Linked DNA regions of Homo sapiens: all the other regions are linked to region 2. Evidence: promoter capture Hi-C in 16 types of primary human blood cells and fetal thymus (Javierre and others, 2016). All regions are on one chromosome and are shown on one strand. Each heading gives the region's core, a stretch centred on a gene start or on the middle of the fragment in contact. The rest is flanking DNA. Distances are from core to core; before and after follow the strand shown.

Region 1 (3,510 bases), core at 406-2,905, 93 kb after region 2:
ACTCCCACCATGCCAGCCAGGCCATGCTTGACATCCCCCTGGGGCTCTACCTCCTGATGTCTCTCTTGGGTTAGGAGAGAGAGAAGGTCTGTGTCTGTCTTACAAGGAAGCTGGGCTCTGCCTCCTTGAGTCATTTGACCTCTGGGGTTAAATAGGAAAGTGCAGTTCATCTACAGGATTGCTTTTATGGAAGACACATTTCCTTTGATGAGCACTAAGTGAGGACTGGCAAACACAAGATAGAAAAAAGAGAATAATCATCATTATGCAAATGGCGATTTTATAGTCACCGCTATACACCAGACTCTGAACCATGTAAAGCTAAGCTCTGTATTGCAGTCTTCCCAACAACCTTATGAGGTAAGTGCAATTATTAGTTCCATTTTCTAGATGAGCAAACAGAGGCTCAGAGAGGTAATGCAACTTTGCCAAGGCCACACAGCTGGTAAGTGGGAGAGTTATCGTTTAAATCCAAGACTATTGGAATCCAGTCTCAAATTCTTAATCACAATAAACTAATGCCTAACTTATTTACCTACTTTGAGCAGGGTTGGCTGTGGAAGCTGTTAGTTTAATTTCAGACATTGTTCTCAGAGACATGACATCATTAGTAATCTCTCGAATAAAAGATGACACAAAGACCTCCCTGGGACGCACTGACCGAAGTCACTCAGGTTCACCTATACATCGGCCTGAGTTGTAATTTAGGGAAGAGTGGGTTTGGATGGAGTGAACTCTAAGAGATCAGCACTGCTTCTCATATACCTCCACTTTTTTTTTTTTTTCAGACAAAGTCTTGCTCTGTTGCCCAGGCTGGAGTGCAGTTGCGTGATCTCAGCTCACTGCAACCTCCACCTCCTAGGTTCAAGTGATTCTCCTGCCTCAGCCTCCTGAGTAGCTGGGACTACAGGTGTATGCCACCACGCCCAGCTGATTTTTTTTTTTATTTTTGGTAGAGACGCGGTTTCACCATGTTGGTTTGGCAGGTCTTGAACTCCTGACCTCAAGTGATCCACCCACCCTGGCCTCCCAAAGTGCTGGGATTACAGGTGTGAGCCACCGCACCTGGCCATACACCCACTTTTAAGAAAGAGATCTGATAAAACAGCAACTCCAAGTACTGTAAAATAAAAAATAACAGATCTGAGAACTGTGCTTTGTCAGGCAAATAATGTTTTAGTTCTCAGTTTATTCACGCATATTTTGCTTTACTTGTTGTTGTAGGGATTAAAATGGAGACTTTGGAAACCCAGCTTATATATTTTGATCTTCCAAAGCATTTCTGAAAAAGCAAAATGTTTGGGGAACATAAGACAGCTTTGACCTCTAATTTTGTGCCATCCAATTCTGGAGGCTCATGGGCTGGGCTGAGGTGGGAGCAGAGTGAGGGAGAGGGGGAGGGATTGCTGGGTGGGGTTATTGAGGAAGAAAATATTCTTTCCCATCTTTGGATTTGTGGTTTGTCTGTTTGTGGCTCACTAGGGTAGGGGACCTTTATTTTCTCCTTCCAGGCAAAAGACTTGATGAAATCATCTCTCTCTGCTTCTCCTTTATGGCAATAATAACAATATTAGCCACCAAGCAGCTGGCGCTCAGGGCTTCTGCCTCTCAGCCATGTTGCCACATGACAAAAACAAGTGGGAGAAAAACAAACCAGCATGCAGACCCTGGCTAGATGCCCCAGTGTGCCAGGGAAGCGCTGGCTTTGAGCTGCTCCAACTAAGAAAGAGAAGATGGCTTTTGTTTCTATTTTATCTATTGGGACAAAGTTGGCCACTGAATGTGGTACCAGTATGGAATGGGGGCAAAATAGTAATGAGGGACGGGTGGAAAGTTATTACCCTAAAGAAGACTGGCAGAGGGGAGGGGGGAAATGGACCCCTTTTCAGTCTGGCAGTTGCCTGTTCCCTTAGACATGGTCTTTGTTGTCTAGGCATGCATAGGCTGTGTCTGGGGACTTGCTCAGGGTCACTTAGCAAATCAAGGATACAGTTAGGGCTCCTGCCTCTTGAAACCCCCTTCTCTATTGGTCTGGATGGCAGGGTAGTAATCCGCCCAGCTGCTTCGGGAAATCAGACCACCCTGACTCATGACCCAGGATAAGGTGGACAGAAGCCCTAAAGCAGTGAAGACGCAGCACTGGGATGATGCCACTCTTCGGCCAGAAGAGATGGACCCCAAGCCACCTCAGTTTAGTCTCTGATCAGGAACTGAAGCAGACAACCATGGCAAATGGGGCAGGCAGAGGGAAGCAGAGCAATCCATTTCGCATTTTCCCCATGCCTCAAATCAGCTCCTTTCCTGGAATTCTGGAATCCACAGGGCCTTCTTCCCATGGACTCCATTTACTGCTGCCCTGTGTATCCAGGATCCAGTCTGCCTTAGCAACATTCTTCAAATGGCATAAAGGTCTTTGTGTCTGCTTACCCATGAAATATCCAGGTGCTGCATTCATCAGCCTTGGTAATGTAATTCTCAGGCAGGAGTCCAGAGCAGCCGGTGGTTAAGGACGTGCCATAGATCCAACCCTCGCTGGTGCTGGTCTGCTCCATTGGAGACATGAAGATGAAGTCCCCGGGGACCAGCTCCAGCTCATCGTCATTTTGTGGGGTATAGGGGTAGATGACCTGTAATGTCTGGAAAAGGAAGAGAGGGTGAGTGAGCCCCATGCCTCACCATTCTCCTGAGCGCCTTGAGGGCAGGACTGTATGTTCTGCATTAATACTGCACACCTCCAGAGGGCGATGTGCCCAGGAGCCCTTGGGGTCTGCAGGCCCTGAGTAGATGTGAATTCCTATCAGAGAGCACTTCTCTCTTCAGGGTATTGACGGTGTATGCCTGGTGCTAGAAATGGTTTCATACTTTTCTTCAGGCATGTCTAGATTTCCCATCAGGATTCAAGTATCGTTTTTGGAAATTGACCTGAAATCCTGTAGGCTCTCTGGCCAACTGCTGTATAAATGGACATGGACCTAGCTTCCCTTGCTTCATCTGATAGTCACCATGATAGACACCTGAAACCCAGCTCATGGAAAGCCAGTCTTCCATACGGGGGTTACAGAGGGGCCAGGTGGAGTGTCTCTCCTCCAGGAAGGCTCAGGGAATGAAGTACCCCCTTTCTGTGTAACATAGCTCTTTATTTATGAATTATTATTATTATTATTTTGAGATAGAGTTTCACTCTTGTTGCCCAGGCTGGAGTGCAATGGCATGATCTCAGCACACTGTAGCCTCTGCCTCCTGGGTTCAAGTGATTCTCTTGCCTCAGCCTCCCTGGTAGCTAGGATTTCAGGCGGCCGCCACCACACCTGGCTAATTTTTGTATTTTTAGTAGAGACAGGGTTTCACCATGTTGGCCAGGCTGGTCTCGAACTCCTGACCTCAGGTGATTCCCCTCTCTTGGCCTCCCAAAGTGCTGAGATTACAGGTGTGAGTCACCATGCCCGGCCAACTTAGCTCTTTAAACCAGACATGGTTCTTGCCTTAAAGGAGTTTTCTTTAAACCTATAG
Region 2 (3,214 bases), core at 528-3,027:
ATGTTTTTGGATTGTGCTTCCTTTCATCTCTACCTAGCATTTCTATTTTGGTCTATTTTCTATCTCACTGCCTTTATACCCATTTTTTTTTTTTCTGTGAGTCAGGTAACAGAAACCTTTACCATTAGAAATTGCTGTAAAATTTGTCTTAATGGCTTGCTCTTGTTCTTTTGGCAAATCCTAACTTTAATTAAATGACACAACCTTATTACTATTCCTAGGATTGCTTATAATGTTGACCTTGTTGCTAATGTTTGCAAGGAGCATCATCAAATCCTTGGAGGAAAGCACCTTAACAAACAACAGGCAAAAGGGAACGTTCATATGTAAATACACACGAAGTGAGTTTTCTATTGAACTCGAAGTCTGCCCTGTTGGTAGACTAACATATTATTCTCTAATATTACAGACTGGTTTGTTGTATTATTTTGTCTCTTATTTTTAAAATACATATTGCATTCTGCCTTATTATTTTAATTGTTGCTTTTTTAGGATGTGCCAAGAAAGCAGCAAATCTATCAAATACTAACACATTTTAAGTAAAAGAGATTGTTTAACACCGGTTTTACTGGAGGAGCTAAGGTCACTGAATTTGAGATCCTGAAGAGCAAGCTTAAGCGTTATAGTGCAACTTAGAATTACTCTTAAAATAATTCAGTCCCTTGAACTTCTCTTCTTAAATGAAATAGGCTAAGCTTTCTTGGAATGAATAAAAAATAAAACAGTAACCACAGAAGATAATTTTGCTGATGTTAGCAGATTCCTGAAGTTTGCTAAAGTATGCAAAGAGCAAAGCCAAACGCCACAAAAGCTGGGTTTTCTGTGGAGGCCTGATCTTACCAAAACATGGGGTGGAAGAAGGAACAGCTGACAGCTTGAATAAGTTAGAAAGTGGGCGTTTAAATTTCATGAATGTGGCTCCCTCCTCCCGTCCAGTGAAAAAAAAAAAAGGTTGTGCCGCTGAAATTTCTGACCAAGAGAGGTGACTAGTCTCCTGAATAAACAAGACAGCGATAGATCCGATGGCACCTAGGGACTAAGAAGCGGCCAGCTCCCCAGGGATCCCTGCAGTGGGTCTAGTCCACTAGCATGGGACAATCGAACTTTCTCCTGGAGGGGAAAAGGAACCCTGCTTGGGCTCACCAAGATGAATCGTAAAGAAAAAGGAACGAACCCTGGTTTGAAACAGGCCGGAAGCTGCCCAGGGGAGGCGTTCGGTTTTCTACCTTTGCTTGTTCCTGAGGAACAAGGCCTGTCACAAGGGGCGTTTGGAGGTCCAGGAAGTGACAAGTCGGCGGGCCTGGTGCCCGGGACCGGTCCTAATTGACCGGGAACAGGGCTGCTCTGGGTGCCCGGGCGCCGAAGCCTCGCATGGCGGCCCCCCAGCCCCTTGTCGCGGCCTCGCCCCCTTGTCGCTCCCCACTCCGTCCCGAAGGCTCCCGCGCCGGCTCCTCCCCAGCTTGCTTGGGTGGTTTCCTGCCGTCCCCATCCCCAGTAAGCCCTTCCCGTTTCCCTCCCCGGGCGCGCCGCCCACCCCAGATCCGGGAGGCCACCGCCCGTCACCTGCCCGGCGCTCCTCCGCGGCCGCGACCCGGACGGGCCCCGCATCCTCCCGCGCCGCCGCCGCCGCCGCCCGGGCCCCCGCCCGCCCCGGCGCTGCCCTGGAGACCGCAGACAACACAGACGCCGGCGCCACATGGGCGGGGCAGGACCCGACCTAGGATCCCGCGTCCCGAACCGCACCCCCGGCCCTGGCACGGAGGCTGCAAACGGCCGTAATAACGACATCGGGGCAGAGCCGGAGGAGCCCGAACGCCCCGGGAGAGGCTGCCTCGCCGCCCGGACTTCCCAGCGCCGGAGGGCAGAGGCCACCCGGGGGAGGAGATCTTTGCCACAAATAAAACTACTAAAATACGCGAGGAACTGCTACAAATCAAGAAGAAAAGGAACCCAATTAAATAATGGGTAAATGGAAAGGTATTTCACAAACACACGAGAAATCTAAATGGCCAATAAATATCTGTTTATTGAAATGATGCTTTAATTCATTAATAATCAGAAGAAGGCCAATTAAAACCACAGCGGATAATACCACACTCACCATAAGTTGAGTCGAAAAGTCCAAAGTTGAAACGTCTGGCAGCGTCAGGTGCTAGGGAGGACGTAGTGCAAAGAACCGTCACCTTCTGCGGGCGGACGTGAGAACCGATGCAACCAACCATTTTGGAAAATGGTTTGACATTAGCCAGGATATGTATGCCTTGGGATCCAGCAATTTCACTTTTAGGTATTTACCCTAAGAAGTGCGTGCTCCTGTGCATGCAAACTGGAAATAACTGAACTATCCATCAAAAGAATGGTTAATTAGATTATGCTATTGCCTATACTGGCATACTACATAGCACTGTAAATGAATGAAATACAACTATGTGTAACAATATGGAGGCATACTAAAAACACAATTTTGAACAACAACAAAAACCCAGAAAAAGTACATACTGTATGATTTTTGTATATAAAAAACAGGCTAAATTACACTCTACAGTGATTGTGGCTCCATACTTAGTGGAGGAAACTATGAAAAAAAGCAAAAAAGCAATTTTATGGGAAACACTACCCACTTAGTGATTCCCATCAAGTTAGGATTGTGGTCGGTTCTGGCAGGTAGGGAGAAGAATGTTTTTGAGACTGTATTTCCTGACCTTAATGATGGTTATATAGATGTTCATCTTGTAAAAATTCATTAAGCTGTACATTTATGTATGGGTAGAATATTTCACTATCAAAAAAGGTTTCAAAAAAGAATAAAGAAAGGAAGCATTAGGAATTATCTTCACATTAAAACAACAAGTAGATTTGAATAACTACCTTCAAAGATTGGTTTGAGGCCAGGTGCAGTGGCTCACCCTGTAATCCCAGCATTTTGGGAAACCGAGCTGGAGGATTGCTTGAGCCCAAGAGTTCAAGACCAGCCTGGGGAAAATGGCAAAACCTTGTCTCTACGAAAATTTTTAACAATTAGTTGAGCGTAGTGGCGCGTGCCTATAGTCCGAGCTACTTGGAAGGCTGAGGTGGGAGGATCACCTGAGCCCAGGAGGTTGAGGCTGAAGTCAGCCAATATTGTGCCACTGCACTCCAGCCTGGGTGAGAGTGAGACCTTGTCAAAAAAAAAAAAAAAAAAAAAAGAGAATTCTTCGGCCAGGCACAGTGGCTC
Region 3 (3,138 bases), core at 79-2,578, 68 kb after region 2:
CCTTCTCCCCTGAATCAGGTGATAAAACCTAGGAAGGACTCTAACCTTTCCTGACGCAGGTCCTGAGAACTTCATGTGAAAGGTGCCTTCCCTAGAGCGGGAGAAAATGAGCACCCTCATCTCTGAAGACAGAGGGACACCCAGGGGAATCTGAACACACAGGCCTCATTAAGTCCTCCCAGTTTATTACCATTAGATCATACTCTTAGTTCTATCACGTTTCTCCATGACTATCTATTCTTCATCAAATTTTGCATTGAAATATTCAGGTTTAACTAGTTTTCTTCAAATCTTCATTTCCTTATGAAGGCTTTTGTGTCATGTGAAGGAAAACAGGGAGCTTCACCCCCAAATATGGCTCCCTGGTATAATGAGTATTTTGGGTTTTTGTTTGTTTGAGTCTCGCTTTGTTGCCCAGGCTGGAGTACTGTCATGGCTCACTGTCAGCTAGACATTCTGGGCTCAAGCGATCCTCCCACCTCAGCCTCCTGACCAGCTGGGACCACAAGTGCACACCACCACACCTGGCTAATTTTTGTATTTTTTTGTAGTGACAGGGTCTTGCTATGTTGCCTAGGCTGGTCTCAAACTCCTAGGCTCAAGCAATTCTCCGGCTCTGATCTCCAAGAATACTGGGATTACAGGTGTGAGCCACCACACCCAGCTGAGTATTTTGAATTAAAGGCCCTTAGAGATCAACAGATGCTAAAAGAAGCCTTTCCCCTATCTACATAAAGACTGGACAGGCCCACCAAGGAGAACAATTGCTTTTCCTTCCTCTATCCCCTCTCAGTCCTCTACCTGTCCCAAAGCACAGGATGAGGTTATTCTCATATCTACCAAAGAAGGAAACAATTACTTCTGGTCCCTTCTCGGAGTTTCCATTGACTGAACTCACATCACAGGATGGAAGACTAAAGTCTGACAACAAACCTGGACAGACTTTTGTCCCAAATGACTGTCCACTCTGTAGGCCTGACCGACTTTGTCCCAGACCATTGTATGTTCTTCAAGTCCATTGAATTTCCTTAAAAATCATTTACTATCTGCCTAAAATCACCCACACCTCCCCATTCTCTTTCCCCTAAGATGTAGGGCATATAAGCATCTGTACCCCGTTGGGAGACTGGGCACTCACTCTGTGATACTCTACAAGCTCACGTAGTTAATAAATTTATTTATGCTTTTTCTATTAATCTGCCTCTTGTCAGTCATTTTCAGTGAACCTTTAGAGGGCAGAGGGAAAGCTTTCCCTTGGCCCCAAGACATGAAAAACTTGTATGCTTTTTCTTTTGTTAATCTATGTTTTGTTATAGGGGCCTCAGCCATGAACCTAGGATAGGTAGAAGGAAATATATTTTTTGTCTCCTAGTTTGCACATAGGGCAGGGGAAGCATTTTGAAGCTTGCTATTTTCACACAGAGTGGGTGTTCAGCTCCCCAGTCTGAATGGCATGGAGGCTTGATGCCTGGTCAGAAGGGTCCAGAGACACACAGTGCTGCTGGAGCATCCTCCCCTTCCATCAGCAGAAAGCGCCCTCTGGCCTTTTGAAAACAGAATCACACTCTGAATGCACATTTATGAAATAATAATGAACAAAGTAACATCTGAAAACATGATAGGAAGAGACCACTCAGAATTTAAAATGACATTGCTCTGGATCAACTGAGAAGTTTCTTTTTATTAAATCATCTATGAACCATTTAATGGAGATGCTCCTGAAAGGTGCATCTGTAATTACAATGGTGCCATAGCTGTATCAACAGGGGAGAGCTCTCAGCCAGGAAAGCACAAGTGCCACGGAGAGTTTACAAAGAATTTGGCAATACAGGTAGGTGTGGTTTTCCTATAACTACAAATAGTCTTCAAATAAATACACCTGAATCACATACAAAAAAAAATACAATAGCCTTATAAATGAGAAAGAAACCAATACACCTCTCCAAAATAACAGGTTTAGAATGATCTGTGTATAACCAAAATGCCTTGGCATGGTGTTTCCATCTTGAGTGGCAATCAAAGAAAGAAGCAGTACATATTTTCCATTATACACATCTATCCTGTACAGAGTCCATGATAGTTGAACAGCTGGAAAATTCCAATTTGTTGTGTAATGGCAGCTAAGTGTAAAGTATTTGCAAGAACTGATTGTATATTAAGTTCGACTAGTCATCACTATAATTTTAAACCTACATACACCAATCCTACTATTATTTGTACTTAAAAATGAAGTTATTTCATCTGCATTTACAATCTTTTTCCCTTTTCGCTTGAATTTTCATTATAGCTAGTCACTTTCCTAGGGAAATTCAATATGTTGAAGTATTAAAGAGAAGCAAATCCAATTTTAATTCTATGTTTAAAAATGAAAAGCTTCTGCTATCACCTAACAAAATATCCCCCATCACCTTTGTAAAGTGAACATTAACCTAAATAGATGTTAAATCGCTCTTTACCCCACCCTCCTCTGCCTGTCTCATCTCTCCCCGCAATGCAGCCTTTTAGACTAGTGCCTCTTCTTTCTCACACGTGTGCTGGATTGCAATTTAAATGCAAATAACCCTGCACCTCATTATCTAAGTTCGTGCAGACTCAGTAACAGTTGCCTGTGCTGAAGGCTGTGAAATCAAACGGAGGTTCATCTGTATTCTAACACATGGATTACTTAGAGTAATTTCAAAAGAGCAATTCATCACTGCTTTGAAATTAAACACTGGACTTGCAGAGTGCCTAGGTTACGGAGGAATGCCTTTCTTTTACCACATAGGGAAGCCTTTCCACAAAGGCAATGAGATAGGAACTTCTTTTACTGTAGCTGTTCAATTAGTTCCCAACAACACTAGGTAATTGAAATAAGAGACTTCATTTTAATACGAATACAGCTAGTTGAGTGGAAAAGACACACTTATGGTAATGTTAAGCACAATGACAAGACAATCTATATGCATTCCAAATACCACTAACAAGGAAATTATCAACAATGATTTACCAAACAGACATCACTCCAGAAGGCATATTTTTTATTTTTTATTTTTTGCAAAATCATCTTTTAAATATAAGGTTACTTTAAAATAATTCTTTGGTTAAAGTATAATTAAAATAAAAAGTAGAAACTCCTCCAAGCCTTTCACTACAGAG
Region 4 (3,553 bases), core at 863-3,362, 120 kb before region 2:
AGCTTTTATTTTAAGCTACTATATTGCCTTTATTTAAAATTACTTCTGTATGAACAGTGTGGTGTATCTCTCACACTTCAGGGTGGGTTAGTTAGCATTTGAGTGTCTCTAATCAAAAGTCCATACCCTTGAAGTGGCTGCTATCAGGCACTTTAATAATCTTTATTTCCTATTAACACCAGAGTCTTGTTAATGTGCACAATTGGTGTTAGAAAGGATTTTTTACTGGTGAAATGAATGGTATTCAAGATATATGGATTGGTTAGAAATATTGACAAGGTACTAGTGAATGAACAGGGAATTTGCTTCCCTGTGGCCTAGTGGCCTAACCTTTCGAAATAGTGCCCTAGGCTTAGAATTTTGCCTGGTCATGTTTTAGGAAGCTTATACAGGATTTGATTGCCTGGCTCTAAATAAGAAAGGATCTGAAGTCACTGCAAGTGAACCTTGCTTGCCAGATACTTGCAAGTTAGTAGTTCTCAACTGGGGACAATTTTGCTTTCCCCACCAACCCTTCCTGGGGGGCATTTGCAGTGGTCTGGAAACATTTTTGGTTGTCACAATTATAAGCATGTATGTGTGTGAGTATGTAGTGGGTAGAAGCCAGAGATACTGCTAAACATCCCACAATGCACAAGACAGCCCCCACAACAACAACAAAAATGGCCCATTCCAAAATGTCAAGAGTGCCAAGGTTTAGAAACCATGGGAAAGGACACAGCTTCAACTTCACTGAGCTCACAGAACTAATTGCTAATGTTTGTGTGTGTGGCTGACTTTAGGCTGCGCCTCTTTCTCTGTAAATAGACAACTGGACAAGAAGTTGTGGAGAAGTTCATTCCTTTTCTATCTCCACTCTTGGAGGTTACTAACAGCTATCAAAAAGAATCCAAAGATTAAAAGAAAAGTTGAGAAAGAAAAAAGAATACAATATTTCTACATAATCAAGTTGTCTCGAGTAATTTCAAATAGTAGTGTAGGTTTCAGGGTTTTTTTGTGGAAACCTTAAATTTTATTAATTTCAGACTTTAAAAATAAACAACCAGGCCCCACGTGCTTTCACACATTGCTCTCTCGTTTGAAGCCACCATAATCCTTTGAGGCAGCATTATTCCCATCTTACAGAAGAAAACTAGGCTTTCATGACTTGCCAGAGGTTACATGGCTAATATGTGTTTTCCAGTATCTTAACTCAGCTCTCTGCTTCTAAGACTTCAGAGGGGAAACATTTCTGCCATGATTTTTTTTTCTTTTCTTTTCTTTTGAGACAGTCTTGCTGTGTCACCTGGGCTGAGTACAGTGGCTAGATGTCAGCTCACTGCCACCTCTGCCTCCTGGGTTCAAGTGATTCTCCTGCCTCAGCCTCCCCAGTAGCTGGAACTACAGGTGCGCACCACCACGCCTGGCTAGTTTTTGTATTTTCAGTAGAAACAGGGTTTCATCATGTTGGCCAGGCTGGTCTCGAACTCCTGACCTCAAGTGATCTGTCTGCCTCAGCTTCCCAAAGTGCTGGGACTGCGTGTGGCCTGCTATGATTTAACTAAAGGGCTTTGAACGTGTTCCCACCCTATGTCTGATGGATCATAAGATGAAATGGTCCTTAATGGATCATCTGGTCTAGAAATTCTCAAACTTAGACATTAAAGATCAATAACCTTTTAAAAATAATTATATACTTTTATTTTTCCATAGAAAAAAAGTTTTCAAAACCTCCTACCATTTACTTTCAATACCATTTCATTAAAAAAAGGATATTTTAATCCAGGAAAATAGAAAGGAAATAATTTTTCCTTCATTCATTCAACAAATATTGATTGAGTGCCTCTTACATACAGGTATTCTTCTGGGTATTGGAAAACAGAGAACAAGAATATCATCAAAGTCCTTACCCTCTTGGAGCTTACATTCCAACACTATCATCTCAGAAGAAAAGCCCTTTAAATGAAATAAATTAAACTCGAGAGATTCTTTACAGTGTCCTTATTGTTCTCATTTAATTAATAAAAACCTTGTCATGTGTCAGCATTGGTCCATAGACCACCATTTGGGAACTCTGGATCTAGCTGATTTCCAGGGAAAGCATACATCATTATTCTCGCACGGGCTACAACCACGACCAATGATATGAAAAACCATCGTTGTATTTCAGAACAACGAAGTTATCACAGATGGAAGGAAATCAGAACAAAATTTGGATGCAATCTGGATTCTCCTAGGGACAAGAGTTGGTGGCCTAGGTGAGAAATGAATTGTACTATTTACTGTGCACCTCGGGGTAATCTCAGTTGTATTTCTGTGAGTTCCACTTCTGGCTCTTTGGTTCAACAGGTAAAGTGGCATTTTCTAAATCACCTTGCTTTGCCTGCTTTTTCTCCACCTCACTGGTAAGGCTGGAAATGTTCCCAAACACCCTTTGATCTGGCAATCATTGCAGCTCATTAGCAGGCCTGGGAGGCTAAGTTCATTCCACACAGAGGGAAACTGAGCTGCAGGAGGTCACCTGGGAAGGCAGCAATGGCTTGAGGACCAAAACCCAGCTCTTCTGCCTCTATCCATGGATCTGCTCATTGGACAACTCAGAGTAATGCCTGTTCAGAGTAGTAAAGGCCAGAAGTATATTCTCCATGGCCCCACAAGAGCAACCTTGCTTGGATTTCCCCCTAGATTATTTGAGTTCCAACTCTTCAAAATCACCCTTCCCATTTTGCCCAAAGTATGTGCCCCTGGGAGTTCAGGGCAACAAGTTTGCATGGCTAATAACTCTTCCTTCCTGAGCTGCCCAGCAGGCTTAGAAATGGAAATAAAATGTTCAAACACTGAGAGATTATACCAGAGAAAGAGCTCAAGAAAGAGGTAAGAGTGGTCAGGTATGGTGGCTCATGCCTCTAATCCCAGCACTTTGGGAGGCCGAGGCAGGCGAATCACTTGAGGTCAGGAGTTTGAGACCAGCTGGCCAACATGGTAAAACCCTGACTCTACTAAAAATACAAAAATTAGCCATGCATGGTGGCGGGCACCTGTAATCCCAGCTACTCAGGAGGCTGAAGCAGGAGAATCACTTGATCCCGGGAGTCGGAGTTTGCGGCAAGCTGAGATCACGCCCCTGCACTCCAGCCTGGGCAACAGAGCGAGACTCCGTCTCAAAAAAAAAAAAAAAGGTAAGAGCAAGGTGGGAGCAGCCGGAGCTCTGGTAGGAGTTGAAGGTCAAGGCTAGAAGACTGTCCTGTTAGCTCTCCCGGCCACCAAGATCCTGAATGTGAAAATGAGAAGACAGGATCCTTGTCCTACTTTAACAGCCTTCTCTACTCTGTCTGAATATGGTGAATTAGTTTTGTTTTACAGAAAGGGAATTCTGGCTGGCTGGGACCCTTAAAAGACATCATGTGTCTCCCTTGGCCTCCGGGCAGGGGTGTGTTTGCATCACTGCCGGTGCCTCCACTTCCTTTGTCCAGAGCTGTACAGACTGGCTCTTCCATCTAAATGCCTGCTTTTAATCATGACCTTCCCAACTCACCTCCTGTGGCTGGCTGTGGTACATTCGCAAATCTGACCT

What was found. Contacts are between HindIII fragments. The CHiCAGO score rates a contact against its expected background, and 5 or more counts as called.
Region 1: a contact is called between a fragment that was not itself captured here and the fragment with the promoter of JHY in region 2, in 2 of 17 cell types (total CD8 T cells and naive CD8 T cells). The highest score is 7.5, in total CD8 T cells.
Region 3: a contact is called between a fragment that was not itself captured here and the fragment with the promoter of JHY in region 2, in 1 of 17 cell types (total CD8 T cells). The highest score is 5.8, in total CD8 T cells.
Region 4: a fragment that was not itself captured here is called in contact with the fragment with the promoter of JHY in region 2 in 1 of 17 cell types (M2 macrophages); the score reaches 5.4 in M2 macrophages.

What each region holds. Positions count from the first base shown.
Region 1 is chr11:122,788,226-122,791,735 of GRCh38, reverse strand. UBASH3B (ubiquitin associated and SH3 domain containing B) reads right to left here. Exons shown (of 14, transcript NM_032873.5): 6 at 2,428-2,636. Among named protein-coding and RNA genes, the nearest start is that of CRTAM, 49 kb to the left of the region's middle. The HindIII fragment of the contact is 4,369 bases long and covers 1-3,510 here.
Region 2 is chr11:122,881,322-122,884,535 of GRCh38, reverse strand. It overlaps JHY (junctional cadherin complex regulator), which reads right to left and starts at 1,777. Exons shown (of 9, transcript NM_024806.4): 1 at 1,564-1,777. RefSeq lists a silencer at 1,299-1,658. The HindIII fragment of the contact is 12,251 bases long and covers 698-3,214 here.
Region 3 is chr11:122,812,997-122,816,134 of GRCh38, reverse strand. It overlaps UBASH3B (ubiquitin associated and SH3 domain containing B), which reads right to left. Exons shown (of 14, transcript NM_032873.5): 14 at 1,662-3,138. Among named protein-coding and RNA genes, the nearest start is that of CRTAM, 24 kb to the left of the region's middle. RefSeq lists enhancers at 2,327-2,934, 2,935-3,138. The HindIII fragment of the contact is 157 bases long and covers 1,250-1,406 here.
Region 4 is chr11:123,002,201-123,005,753 of GRCh38, reverse strand. No RefSeq gene overlaps it. Among named protein-coding and RNA genes, the nearest start is that of BSX, 22 kb to the right of the region's middle. The HindIII fragment of the contact is 3,454 bases long and covers 386-3,553 here.